4 separate regions of the Homo sapiens genome follow, and regions 1, 2 and 4 are each linked to region 3. Evidence: promoter capture Hi-C in human tissues and cell types (Jung and others, 2019). All regions are on one chromosome and are shown on one strand. The core of a region is centred on a gene start or on the middle of the fragment in contact, and the rest is flanking DNA. Distances in the headings are between cores, read along the strand shown.

What was found. Contacts are between HindIII fragments. The study calls those that stand out against the background at their distance.
Region 1: a fragment that was not itself captured here is called in contact with the fragment with the promoter of FBLN1 in region 3 in 1 of the 25 tissues and cell types used here (mesendoderm cells).
Region 2: a contact is called between a fragment that was not itself captured here and the fragment with the promoter of FBLN1 in region 3, in 2 of the 25 tissues and cell types used here (dorsolateral prefrontal cortex and pancreas).
Region 4: the fragment with the promoter of FAM118A here is called in contact with the fragment with the promoter of FBLN1 in region 3 in 2 of the 25 tissues and cell types used here (IMR-90 fibroblasts and mesendoderm cells).

The regions. Positions count from the first base shown.
Region 1 is chr22:45,326,669-45,329,888 of GRCh38, forward strand. FAM118A (family with sequence similarity 118 member A) reads left to right here. Exons shown (of 9, transcript NM_017911.4): 4 at 1,174-1,395. Among named protein-coding and RNA genes, the nearest start is that of FAM118A, 18 kb to the left of the region's middle. The HindIII fragment of the contact is 9,189 bases long and covers 1-3,220 here.
Region 2 is chr22:45,642,401-45,645,917 of GRCh38, forward strand. The region is part of intron 1 of LOC105373069 (a long non-coding RNA gene); the gene reads left to right. Among named protein-coding and RNA genes, the nearest start is that of ATXN10, 28 kb to the right of the region's middle. RefSeq lists a silencer at 3,268-3,517. The HindIII fragment of the contact is 8,115 bases long and covers 1-3,517 here.
Region 3 is chr22:45,501,480-45,505,030 of GRCh38, forward strand. It overlaps FBLN1 (fibulin 1), which reads left to right and starts at 1,404. Exons shown (of 17, transcript NM_006486.3): 1 at 1,404-1,585. The coding sequence starts at 1,507. RefSeq lists enhancers at 2,018-2,631, 2,632-3,245, 3,246-3,551. The HindIII fragment of the contact is 10,534 bases long and covers 1-3,551 here.
Region 4 is chr22:45,307,940-45,311,451 of GRCh38, forward strand. It overlaps FAM118A (family with sequence similarity 118 member A), which reads left to right and starts at 1,995. Exons shown (of 9, transcript NM_017911.4): 1 at 1,995-2,244. RefSeq lists a silencer at 1,661-2,340 and an enhancer at 3,057-3,512. The HindIII fragment of the contact is 15,582 bases long and covers 1-3,512 here.

The DNA.
Region 1 (3,220 bases), core at 204-2,703, 170 kb before region 3:
ATACAAAAATTAGCTGGGTGTGGTGGTGCGCACCTGTAGTCCCAGCAACTTGGGAGGCTGAGGCAGGAGAATTGCTTGAACCAGGAGGGGAGGTTGCAGTGAGCCAAGATCACGCCACTGCATTTCATCCTGGGTGACAGAGCAAGACTCTGTCTCAAAAAAAAAAAAAAAAAAAAAAAGTTAAAAAATTAACTAGGTGTTATGGTGTGTGTGCACCTATAGTCCCAGCTACTTGGGAGGCTGAGGTTGGAGGATCACTTGAGCCTGGGAGATCAAGGCTGCAGAGGGCCGTGATCGTGCCACTCACTGCACTCCAGCCTGGGTGACAGAGTGAGACTCTGTCTCAAAAAATAAAATAATAAAATGAAAAATGAAATAAAATAATATAAAAAATTAAATTAAAAAAATTTTTAAAAAATATAATGAGTTGGGTGTGGTGGTGGCACCTGTAGCCCTAGCTACTTGGGAGGCTTAGGTGGCAAGCTCGCTTGGGCCCAGGAGTTGGAGGCTGCAGTGAGCTATCCTGGCACCACTGTGCTCCAGCCTGGATGACAGAGCAAGGCCCTATCTCAAAAAAAGAAAAAGAAAAAAGAAACACTGCCTCCCGCCTCATTGAAGGTGCCACGAAGACACGCTGTTTCATTACCACCGAGAAAGAGAAAACTGGGACTGTGCAGCGCTCAGGGAAAGCCAGAGTCTTTACAGTGGTCCTCAAGGCCCAGGTCATCTGCTTCTGCTGCCGACTCTTCCCCTCACTCCTCTCCTGCCTCCGTGGCCTCTTGCTGACCTGGGACGTACCTGAGCCGTGACCTCAGTGCTGTGGCCCTTGCTCTTCCCTCTGCTTAGAACATTCTCCACGAGCCCTCACCTCCTCAGGCCCCTGTTCAGATGCCCTCTTCTCAGAGAGGCTTGCCTAGTGTCTTGGTCCTGTCCACCTCCCCTGACAGCGCCTGCCCCCGTCTCTGCCGTGCTTTCCTGTGGCAGCGTCACCGGTGGCGTGCTACACGTGAGCATCCCCTGTCCCCCTGCTCTGGGGTTGCGGCGCACGCTGTGAAGCCAGATTTTCTTTGTTTTCAGCCGCTGTATCTCTGGCACCCAGAAAATGGCCTGCTTAGGTGCTCAGTAGTTGTTAAGAGCTGATGTTTTGGTAACTGTCGTTCCACCTTTTTGTAGCGCACAGGCGATGCCAAGCCCAGCTTCTTCCAGGACTGCCTGATGGAGGTGTTTGACGACCTGGAGCAGCACATCCGGAGTCCTGTGGTGCTGCAGTCGATCCTCAGCCTGATGGACAGGGGCGCCATGGTCCTGACCACCAACTATGACAACCTGCTGGAGGCCTTTGGCCGGCGGCAGAACAAGCCCATGGAGTCCCTGGACTTGAAGGACAAGACCAAGGTATGGGCTGGGGGTGCGGGAGGCCTTTGGCCGGCGGCAGAACAAGCCCATGGAGTCCCTGGACTTGAAGGACAAGACCAAGGTATGGGCTGGGGGTGCGGGAGGTCTTTGGCCGGCGGCAGAACAAGCCCATGGAGTCCCTGGACTTGAAGGACAAGACCAAGGTATGGGCTGGGGGTGCGGGAGGTCTTTGGCCGGCGGCAGAACAAGCCCATGGAGTCCCTGGACTTGAAGGACAAGACCAAGGTATGGGCTGGGGGTGCGGGAGGCCTTTGGCCGGCGGCAGAACAAGCCCATGGAGTCCCTGGACTTGAAGGACAAGACCAAGGTGTGGGCTGGGGCTGCGGGCAGCCTGCAGGTGTGGGGAGTTCTGTGCCCTGGGAGCTGCTCTCACTTTGTAGCAGTGAATTACTAATAAAGTAGCCAGGCATGGTGGCGCCTGCCTGCAGTCCCCGCTACTGGGGAGGCCGAGGTGGGAGGATTGCTTGAGCCCAGGAGTTCCAGACTGAAATGAGCTATGATCATGCCACTTATTCCAGCCTGGGTGACAGAGTAAGACCCTTTCTCTTAAAAAAAAAAAAGTAATAATGGAAAGTGGCACACTGGCAACTTGGGAGGCTGAGGCAGGAGAATAGCTGGAACTGGGAGGGAGATGGTTGCAGTGAGCTGAGATCACTGTACTCCAGCCTGGGCAAGAGAGTGAGACCCTGTCTCAAAAAACAAAAGAAAAAAAAAAAGAAATACCTGAGACTGGGTAATATATAAAGAAAAGAGCTGTAATTGGCTCACGGTTCCACAGCTGTCTAGGAAGCATAGCAGCATCTGCTTCCGGGGAGGCCTCAGGAAGTTTCCAATAGTGGCAGAAGGCAGAGTGGGAGCAGGCATGCCACATGGCAACAGAGAGAGTGGCAGGGGGGTGGTGCCACATGCTTTTAAATGACCAGATTTCTCAAGAAGTCACTGTCACGAAGATGGCACGAAGCCATGAGGGATGATCCTGCCCCGTGATCCAAGCACCTCCCACCAGGCCCCACCTCCAGCACTGGGGATCACAGTTCAGCATGAGATTTTCGTGGGGACAAATGTCCAGACTATATCAGTTAGCATATATTTACAGTTATAAATAACACTACAGGGTCCTCATACTTTTATGTCCTGTTTTCAAGATGAATTCCTAGAAGAGTTTTATGGTCAAAAGGTATGAATGTTTTAAAGACTGATGATGTAAATTACCAAATTGTTTTCCAGAAGGAGCACCAGTTACACTCCCGGTAGTGGCTGAGTGTGGGAGTATCCATTTCCTGTATCTTGCCAACACATGGTGTTATTAAGAAACAAAATGAAATACACCTTGTCCATTTGATAGCTGAAATTTTCAACATTGATTTCTTGTGTTACTAAAGGTTGAGCGTAGTTTCATGTGACTCTTGATATTTCTTTTGTGACATACTTGTGACCTTTGTGTGTCTGCTTATGTTATTCATAACTAACACTGCTGCCTGTGTTGTCTGGGCTGCCTTGTGAGGTAAGGCCCTGGCCCCGCTCTGTGTACAAAGAGACTGAATTACGGGGCACGGGGCAGTGTACACGGGGGCAGGGCCGCCTGAGGGGAGCGGGCAGGGCCAAGGCACCCACTCCTGCCGGTAGTGCCATGGAGTAGACATCTGCTCTCTGCGTCTGAGCCACATGGTCCCCACTGCTGGGGCTTGCTGTTGGAAACAGACAGCCAGTTGCATAAACAGAACTGCCAGCTGGCTCACCGCCCAGTGATGGCAGCAGGGCTGTTGGTGTTTGTGTCCATTCCACCTGCTGCTGTGCGGGCTCC
Region 2 (3,517 bases), core at 600-3,099, 140 kb after region 3:
TGCACAGAGATCCCACATTCTACCTGGTATTACTCCCATTCTCTGCACTGCTGACAGCTCTCAAACAGATTCTTTCCACGAGGAATTAGCCCGCACACAACATGAATGGGCTCGTTTTATATCAGAAGGCTGAATTTTAACTGACAAATTGGACAGGTTCCCTAAGGCAAGGGTTGCTAAGCTTTGTCATTCTCGCTAAAAATGTGATTTATAATATATTTCTATTTGCTAGACACTCCTTTTCCCAGGAATGAAGACCCAGCCCAGAAACAGGAGGTCTGCTCAGTATCTTGACCCCATATAAAAATATGCTCCTCAAAAGTTTTCATTAGCATATAAACAGATATGCATCAATCAATCTGCAGCATGGCCACGTCAGCTTTATTTCATTATGTTTTAATGATATTTTAAGCAGCCAAACTCTTAGAATTCAGGACAGGGCAAGAGTAACCCACAATTTACTTTAGAATTTTATGTTTTAAAGGAAAGATCTAAGGGTCTGATGAAAGGAGTTGTATTTCCTCGGATCTTTTCTTCCACTTTATAAAATAAAAACCATTTTTGTTGCTTCTTAAGTACTCTGGTATTTACAAATGCAGAATATGTCAGATATTAGAGATCAACCCACACCTTCAGCCAAGTTTCCTCAGAGATCCTTTGTAAAAAAAAAAACCACACACACAAAAAGTGGGTGAAACCGTCTGACTTCTTAGAAGTCTGAGTTAAAAGTTGCAAACTCATTTTGCCCAAGATAACCAGAAATGCTCTAAGCTAAGTGGGCAGAAACAGATTTGATCTCTGTATCTGATTGCTGGCAGAAGTCAAGCAGCCAATTTTTCAACAATGTCTCCATATCATGAAACTTCCTAAAAATCTTCAAGGGAGTAACCTGAGCTTGTGAAAAATGATCCCGAATGTCAATAGGACAAAGCTTCCCTTCCAAGATATAATTAGGGGAGCTTGGAGCAGGCCTTTCATATTTGAGTTGACAAGCATCTTTTTTCCTTTGTTCAGTCTGTTCTGGAGGGCTTTAGGAGGGCTTCGCCATTTCTTTGTTAAGAGGAATGGTTGAAACAAAATTTGTATAAGAGGAATCATTTAAAATTGAATCCATCCAATAGGAATGTTTATTTTACCCAACGTTTTTCTGTGTGAGAATAATACCTGTTTTTTCTAGGTAATATATGTCTTTTATTTAATCACATGCATATTTAAGCCTCTAAGTTCTCTGTTCAAAACACTGATTTTTTTTTTTTTTTTTTTTTTTTTTTTTGAGACAGGTCTCGCTCTGTCGCCCAGGCTGGAGTGCAGTGGCGCTATCATGACTCACTGCGACCTTGACCTCCCAGGCTCAAGCGATCCTCCCACCTTAGCCGCCCAAGTAGCTGGGACTACAGGTGTACATCACCATGCCCAGCTAATTTTTCATAGAGATGGGGTTTCACCATGTTGTGCAAGCTGCTCTTGAACTCCTGGGCTCAAGCAATCTGCCCACCTTGGCCTCCTAAAATGTTAGGATTCCAGGCATGAGCCACCGCACCTGGCCCGTAACACTGATTAAAGACATACAGATCGGCCGGGCGCGGTGGCTCACGCCTGTAATCCCAGCACTTTGGGAGGCCGAGGAGGGGGCAGATCACGAGGTCAGGAGTTTGAGACCAGCCTGGCCAGCATGGTGAAACCTTGTCTCTACTAAAAATACAAAAAATTAGCCAGGCATGGAGGGATGCGCCTGTAATCCTAGCTACTCGGGAGGCTGAGGCAGGAGAATCACTTGAACCTGGGAAGCAAAGGTTGCAGTGAGCTGAGATCCCGCCACTGCACTCTAGCCTGGGTGACAGAGTGAGACTCCATCTCGGAAAAAAAAAAAAAAGATATACTGATCATATGAGCAAAGCATTGCTAAGAAGGCTGATGTAATTGTTAGGCTCCACTGAGAGACGCCTGGTGTCTAGAACTTACGATGTCCAGGCTGGTGGGAGCTGGCCTGGAGTTGGTACCCCGTGGCGATAGAAACATGAATGCATGAAGAGTATCTACAGAAGGGACCAGAACCTTGAGAAGACTCAGAACTCTCAAGCAGAGGCCGGTTGCGATGGCTCAAGCCTGTAATCCCAGCGCTTTGGGAGGCCGAGGTGGGCAGATCACTTGAGCCCAGGAGTTCGAGACCAGCCTGGCCAACATGGTGAAACCCCCACTCTACTAAAAATACAAAAATTAGCCGGGGGTGGTGGCGCATGCCCGTAATCCCAGCTGCTCGGGAGGCCGAGACAGGAGAATTGCCTGAACCTGGGAGGCACAGGTTGCAGTGAGCTGAGATTGCACCACTGCACTCCGGCCTGGGTGATAGAGCGAGATTCCGTCTCAAAAACAAACAAAAAAACCAAAAAAACCTCAGAACTCTCAAGCAGGACTTCTCAACCTCAGCACTGTTGACTTTTGGGTGGGACAATTCTTTGTTGTGCGTGTGGCGGGATGGAGGTGCTACGCCATGTACCTTAGGATGCTTAGCAGCACGGGGGCCTCTCCCCACCAGACGCCAGGAGTGGTCTCCCTCCTCCGGGTAGATCACCAAAAGTTCTCCAGACATTGCCAAATGTCCCCTGCAGGGCAAAATCGTCCTCGGTTGAAATTGTCCACTGCTCTAAAGAATGCAGGAAGTTGGGCACACTTAGCTCGGAATGAATATTTACAGGGAACATTAAAGCTGTTTGTAGGCATCGTACGAAAAAAGTTATTCTGATTGTTTCAGAAGGCTGAGCAAGAACAAACGGGGCAAACCTGTATTTTGACTAAGGAACAAGGAGACCTTTCTAGAAGAACCGCTCAGCTCCCAGTCCCCAAAGTGTGTATGTTTAGACCGGGCGAGGATCCTGAATCAAGGTCCGGGCCTCTTTCCTCGGAAGAACAGACCGACCGATGGTCTTCTGGGCACCCAGAGGAGCAGTCAAGCGCGGTGCTTGCTGAGAGCTTGGCCTCCGTGGGTGCCATTTAATCTGCGGTTGGGAGAGGTATTCAGAGCTTTGCAGATGGGCCTCTGCCGTTCCTCAGGGCCCACTCCAGTGCCCAGGGAGGGTGGGCAGAGCAGCGGAGGCAGGGGGCTTGCGGTGGGGCTGGGGCCGGCAGAGGAACAAACGGACTCACAGGACGTGCGGCAGGCAGGAGAGCCCTCTCCCGACCTGACCGTCACGGAAGCCTCTCAGCCGGTGTCTGAGCTGGGACTGGGACCCAGAGTCCTCAGTCAGGCTCTTCCCTCCGAGGTGGGGAGGCGAGCCCGGGGATCCGCACCTGCCCAGGTGGACTCCGCTGCTGCGTGGCGCCTGCCCTGGGACCCACGTGCGGCTAGGCGGCACCTCCCCGGGCGCCCAGCAGGTGGCGGTGCGCGGCCTCGAATGGCGGCTGGCAGGGCCGGGACGCGGCGGCTCCTCGCCGGGCGCGTTTCCTCCTCCAGCACTGTCTCACCCTGCTCCATGCTAACCTGCTGAACGGCCCCTGGCCTCTTTCCGCCCCGCCCCCG
Region 3 (3,551 bases), core at 154-2,653:
AGACGGAGTCTCACTCCGCCGCCCAGGCTGGAGTGCAGTGGTGAGATCTCGGCTCACTGCAACCTCCGTCTCCCGGGTTCAGGCGATTCTCCTGCCTCAGCCTCCCGAGTAGCTGGGACTACAGGTGTGCACCACCATGCCTGGCTAATTTATTTTTATTTTTATTTTTAGTAGAGACAGGGTTTCACCATGTTGGCCAGGCTGGTTTCGAACTCCTGACCTCAGGCAATCCGCCCACTTCATCCTCCCAAAGTGCTGGGATTACAGGTGTGAGCCACCGCCACCGGCCTGTTCTTGCCTTTTATGTAAATGGAATCATGCAGCGAGTGTTCCTTTGTGGCTGACTCTATTACTCTGACTTACGTCTGTGAGATTTACCCGTTATGTGAGTTGCGGATCATTCACTCCTGTTCCGTTTGTCGTGCTCCTAAGCCCGAATACTCCACGATATTCATCTGCCTTGATGACGCTAGGCTTCCCAATTGGAGGAATTATGAATGTGCGGCTACATGTCTTTCTGTCTTTTGGAGCACATGTTGTATGCGTTTCTGCTGAGTGTAAGGCTGGGCGGGGCGTCGGTGGCTCAAGGGGTCCATGGTGAACTCACAGGAACACCGCTTTGAGCTGCCCAGTGGCGTTCCTATGCGTCTCATCCAGTTCCTCCGCATCTTCACCTGCACCATTTTATTCTTCTTCTTTGGAAAATAAATCTACTTGTGGTTCCAAAGCCTAACTCATCCTCAGTAACCCCGGTAGCTATGAATTCCTATACAAGAGGCTCCCGCAGGCCCAGCGCCAAAGCTGCCTCCCCTGCAGCCTCGGTGACTTCCCGGGTCTCTCCCTCCGGCCCTGGTGTCCCGGGTGAGCCCAGCACACGTTGGGATTTTGGTTGTTTGTTGGCCTGGCCCGACTGTCCCTGTCTCTGAGGGCAGAGTCGGGTCCCATCCCGGGACACGCCTGGGGTTAGCCACCGACCTGCAGCCTCCCGGCCGAGGGTGCGGGGTTGGCGGTAAGGCCTGCCCCAGTGCCCCCCAGCAGCCGGGCCTCCGACTGCAGGCCCGGGTCCCCGCTCCTCCGCGCGGAGTCGGGCGGGGATAACCTTTGATCCCGAGCCCTCCCCTCGAGAGGGGGTGGGGGGAGGAGGGGATCGGGTTTCACGGAGTGTTGGGGGATAGGACTGGGGGCATCCGGCCCGAAGGCGCCCCCTCTGTGCCCCCTCCGGGGAAGTCTGGGATCCAGGCCCTCGCCCCCAGCCGTGGGCGCGCGCCCCTCGCAGCCGGGGTCCGGGGAGGGAGGGTCCCGGCAGGGGGCGCCGGGGAGGGAGGACCAGGAGACCCGCGGCCCCGCCTCCGCCGCGCCCTCCTCCCGGGCGGGATAATTGAACGGCGCGGCCCTGGCCCAGCGTTGGCTGCCGAGGCTCGGCCGGAGCGTGGAGCCCGCGCCGCTGCCCCAGGACCGCGCCCGCGCCTTTGTCCGCCGCCGCCCACCGCCCGTCGCCCGCCGCCCATGGAGCGCGCCGCGCCGTCGCGCCGGGTCCCGCTTCCGCTGCTGCTGCTCGGCGGCCTTGCGCTGCTGGCGGCCGGAGGTAGGGGCGTCCCGGGTCCGCCGCCCCAGCTTAGGGTCCCGACCCCCTCGGCCTCGCGCTCCCTGCGAGTTTCGGAACCACGGGGACTCGGAGTCCGTGCGTTGCCCTGCGCGGCGCCCCCGGACTGTCAGCGCCGAGGCCTCGGCGACGCCCCCCTCCCCCACGGCCAGCTCCGGTCCTCATCTCCTCCCCGGCCTGGGGACTTGTTTCAAAACCGGATTCCCCCACCCCTCAAACACACCGTCCTACCCCAGTCCTAGCAAATCCAGCCGGCTCCGGGGGCCGCATCCCGGGCCCTGGGGGTTCAGGGGCGCTAGCTGGGCTGGGGGACGCTGGCTGGGGGTTACCGAGCCCAGGGCGCCTTGCACTTGACGCTGGAAGCGCCCTCGGCTATCTTTCCTCACCGCTTCCCGCCTCCACCCCCAGGTAGGAGCTGTTGTACCCAGCTTGCGGATGTGAAACTTGAGCCTGGAGGGTGGGAAGCAGTCTTTTCCCCAGGAGACACTAGCGGTCCTGGGATAGGGGCTGGAGAGGAAGAAATGAGAAAGCCAGGGAGCAGCCTGGAGGTTTTTGGGGCGTAGCTGGGAGGATGGAGGGGATGCGGACCTGGCCACCTCCTCCCTGCCTCCCTCCCGGGACAGAGGGCCCAAGGCAGTGGTTCTGCCGGGCTCGGTGCTCAGCGGGGACTGGGGACTGGTCACTTCCACCAACGGCAAGGGGGATGGAGTTTTCCAAGAGCAGATCTGATCGATGGCCCAGACCTTAGGCCCCAACTCTGGGACTGACAGCTCCGGGACAGTGCCCACCCAGCCCGCGCTTTTCTCCCCTCTAACCCTCAAGGCCTGGTCCCTGGGGGGACTGCCACGAGGTCCTCTGATCAGAGCAGCTGCTGGGCGGCAGAGCTATGACCTGTGACCTCTCTGCTGACCCGTGGCTTCTCAGAGCCACTAGCCAGGCCCGGCACTCCTGGCGTCTTTGTTTCTCCAGTGGCCCAGGTCCAGGGGAGTGCCCTAGACCACCCTCAGAATCCGAGTCTTAATCCCTGGTTTAGTTGAGTTCCTTTTAACCTCTGGTGACCGCCTTTGTTAGTCAAAAGGTCGCTTGTCCCAACTAATGCTCACTGGGGGATTCCAGGAAGGGGGCTGAAGGGGGCTGGAGGGGGAGGGGAGGCTGGGAGCTGAGCTCTACAGAGCTTTCTTGACTGGCTGGCTGCAGCAGAGCCCTGTGGAGCTCTGATTGTTCAGGCGGTGCTGGGCACGGCCTGGGCACCTCGTGGGGTTGGAGATGGTGTGGGGAGGCGCAGAGCTCAGTGTTGGCACCAGGAGCCTTCGCAGCCCCTGGGGGCTCCCTGGAGGCTCTTTAGAAGAGATGGAGCTTGATGTAAGGGGAGCGCGGGAAGAGGGCATTCCAGCAAGCAGCAGGCCGGGTGGCTGCCAGCTGGAGGGAAAACCCCGAGGGGCCCTGGGTGATGGGTGGGTGGGACATCCGAGACTCCTGTTAGAAAAGGAAGGAGCCTCAGAGGCCCCGATTGTGTCGATGAGGAAGCTGAGGGCCTGAGAGAAGGCGTGGTAAAACTCTCCCTGGCCCCGGAGTCTCTGCGTTCCCTCTCACTGTTCTTTTCTGTCTGCGGTTTGCGAACAATTTCTCCCTATGTGTGTGTGACTGAATGAACACCCCAGGACTTGCGGGCCCAGTGTGGCTCACTGCTGAGCCACAGAGAAGTTTGTAATTGGAAGGGTTTAAAAAAGCCTCCTAATTGCACACTTCGATAAAAGCAGCTGGATGTCCTGTGGGCCTTTTGTTTCTTTTGGGGAGAAGTCTCTTTGAGTTTCAACAGGTTTAATTTGGTACAGTTTGGGAAGGGGCTTTTGAAGACTGCCTGGCCCCTATCTGCAGCTGTGAGGCCCCCGAAGCCCTGTATGTAAGGCCACAAGTGGCACCGCCCCTGCTCTCAGAGAGCTGTGGG
Region 4 (3,512 bases), core at 745-3,244, 190 kb before region 3:
CAGCCTATCTCAGATGGTGCTGAATGTGGCTGGAGGTTACGATTGCTTTGGTCCCACCACCCCTCAGAGGATGCCCTGCGCAGAGTCTTGGGTCTGACTGACCTCGGCAGCACCCAGCCCATAAGGTCCTGTTAATCAAAATCCTTGCTGGGGCCTGGGAGCTCCATGAGGGAAGGGGCCACATCTCCCACAGGTCTCGGGCTTCAGCACCCAGTACAGGAGCAGGTGTTCATGAACTGAATTATATATCTTTTGCATTAAAAAAAATTTTTTTTGAGACAGAGTCTCGCTCTGTTGCCCGGGCTGGAGTGAAGTGGCATGATCTCAGCTCACTGCTGCCTCTGCCACCCGGGTTCAAGTGATTCTCCTGCCTCAGCCTCCCGAGTAGCTGGGATTACAGGTGTCCGCCACCACGCCCGGCTAATTTTTGTATTTTCAGTAGAGATGAGGTTTTGCCAGGTTGCCCAGGCTGGTCTGGAACTGCTGACTTCAGGTGATCCACCTGCCTCAGCCTCCCAAAGTGCTGAGATTACAGGCGTGAGCCACCGGCCTTTTTTTGCATTTAAGTCGCACCTCCAGGGGTTGGGGAGCTGTATGCAGTGGTGGTTACATGTGTGGGCTGAGGCATGGAACTACACAACCTCTTGGGCCTGAGCTTCCCCTTGTTAAACTGGAATAACAATGAAGACGCCTTCCTCATAGGGTTGTTCCAAGAACACCATGAAGGAACGCATGCAAAGTGCTCAGGGAGTGCCTGACCCCACATACAGAGCACCCAGGGGCTGCCCTCTTCATCCCAGAGTCACTGCTCCCACTGTTTTCTGGGCTCTGGCCCCCCCTAAAATTTCACAGGCCGCTAACACAACACTACCTTCTGTCACAAAATGAGAGCTTTCTGGTGGGCTAGGGTAGGGGGAGATATTAACAGCCAACTTTAAAATCAGGCAGGAAAAAAAGGTGCCAAGGAGACAGGAAGTAATAAATGACTCCAGGTTGGGCAGGGCAGGCTGGGAAGAGGAAGTGGATTGGGTCTTGTTTAGGTAAAAGACTTCAGTGGCAGACAAAGGAGGAGTAATAAGATCGCTAGGGGGCCCGTGCCCAGCCCACCCACGCACAATCTCAGTCCTCGCAATACCCACAAGGTAGGTGCTAGGATCACACCCTTTACGGACGCGGCACCTGCGACAGGGATGCGCGAGGAGTCAGGGGGCCTCGCCGGATCGAACCTAAGCTGGGGAAGAGTATTTCTTGTATTTTTAGGAGAAATTCTCAGCCTCGGGGAAGAGTATTTCTTGATGAGGGAAGAGCGCGGGGAAGACACTCACGCACGCACAAACATGTGGGCGGCCATGGTGTGCCCAGCGCCGTGCTGGCTTCTGGGAACCCCCAGTGGACAAGACGGACAAGGTACCGGCTCTCAGGGGAAGTGGGAGCCAGTCACAAGCGTACCTAATTTCGGAGAGTGACAAGTACTCTGAAAAAGAAAGAAGGTAGGGCTGGTGACTGGCCAATTTAAGCGGGCAGGAGTCTGCTGGGGGACGGAGACCAGCCTCAGGTCTGGGTTGGGGACAGAAGCTGTGCCTAAGTGTGGTGCAGGATGCAGTTGCAAAGGAGCGCTTCCGATCGCACTTGATGCTCGCCACGTCCCTGCAAAGTGCTCCCGCCCCCTTTCTGCAAATGAGGAAACGGGACGCGCGGCTCGCCGGGCCAGGTAGGGCTAGGACGCGGACTCTAGGCCCAAGCGCTCCCCAGCGCAAGCCCTCCCCCGCACATCCGACCGCGCCTGCGCTGGAGACCCCGGGGGCGTGGCCTCCCCGGTGGGCGGGACCGTGGTCACCGAGGTGGGCGGTGCCAGAGGATCTGGCGGCGGGGCGGGGCGGGGCGCGCGTCCTGGCTTCGCCCTTCCCCGGGGCGGGGCCTCCGGGGACCGCGGGGCCGTTGGTTTCGGGACGGAACGTTCACGCGGCTGGGGCGGGCGCGCGGGGGAAGGGTTTGCGGCGGCGCCGCTGCCGGCTAACGCGGAGGGGCGCCTGGAGGCGGCGTGGCGTCCGCTCTGGCTCCGACTCCGGCTCTCGCTCTCGCTTCTAGCCCGCGTGCCTGCGCAGTCCCCTCCCCGAGAACCATCCCCTTGCCCCGCCCAGCGTCAGGGGTGCGCGGCCGCCGAGAGACCCCGGAGGCGTAGCCGGCTGCGGAGGCGAAGAGGTGGCAGCGCGAGCTGGGACCAGCGTCTCGGAGGCGCCGCAGGTGAGGGGGCGGGGCGGGCCCGCGGTCCCTGCATCCGGAGCCCCTGGGGACCCCGAGATCCTCAGGATCCGCCCCGGCCCCGGGGCCACCCCAGGACTCCCTCTCAGCTCTTCCCCTGGAGCCCCTGCCCCCGAGACCCCCTCAGGATCCGCCCTGCCCCTCCAGGCCCGCGAACCCCGAAACTCCAAGATTTTCTCTGGACTCCGAGACCCCCTGAGGACCCCGGCCGCTAGTGGGCCCTGAGAACTGTTGGTTCCGGAAACTCTCGAGGTTCCCTTGGGACTTGCTTCCAGCAACCTCCTCAGAAGCCCCCAGGCCCGGGGCATCTTCCTGTGGGGAGCCGTGGTTCCCAGTGTCCTTAGCCCCGCGAGACCCCGGGTCCCCGTGCCGCCCACCCTGAGGCTCCCTCTCCGACCTGATCTCAGGGCTAGGTTTCTCCAACTTGAGGTCCCTGGACCTGCGGGGCGTGGGTGGAAGTGTTCCCAGGTCTGGTGATAACTTAAGACGGTAACAGCGCGCCCGACGACCACCTCCTAAGCTGTGGTCCCCGCGCCTGCAGGTGCAGGGCCGGGTTTAAGTTTTAATGTTCTGCTGAGACTCAGGTGGCCCCACAGGACAGTCTATAGAGCAGGAGACCTGAGGTGGCCGAGGGCGGCCGAACCGGGGAGGGAGCGAGTTAGGGCACATGGGGACGCTTTTAGGTTGTCTCCTCCTTAATTTTTTCATTCAAGGAACTAACATTTTGTTTTTGAATGCCTGATAGGCTCCAGGAATTGACACTGGAAATAGAGATGAGACGGTCCCTGCTGTCAGGGCCTAGGGACCTGGGGCATAAGACAAGTAGGTCGTTTTTATCTGGAGGAAGCTGTGTCGTCGCTGGCAGGGAACCCATCTGGGTGGGCATGGGATTCTGGGAAGGGGTGGGTGTTAAGGAGGGCGTCTTAGGAGTCGTGGGGAGGAGATGCTAAGCAGCAGGTGAGCTGATTCTTGAAGGTTGAGCTAGAGGAGAAGTTTGCCAGGGTCATTCCAGGCAGAGTTTCAGGGGACAGCCAGTATGTCAAAAGGCAGAGAGGCTGCCACGGCACACAGTGTTGGAAGGCGGGAGGTGTGGCTGGAGCACACCTAATGAAGGTGGCGTGGGAGTGAATGCTAACTGCGGAGAACCCAGCTTTGCTCCCGGAGGCCCACCGTGCCCTTGGCCCTTTCTTGAACGACTGCACCTGCCATTGTCCTGAGAAATGATCCAGCTGAGCTGAAGGAAGGTGGGA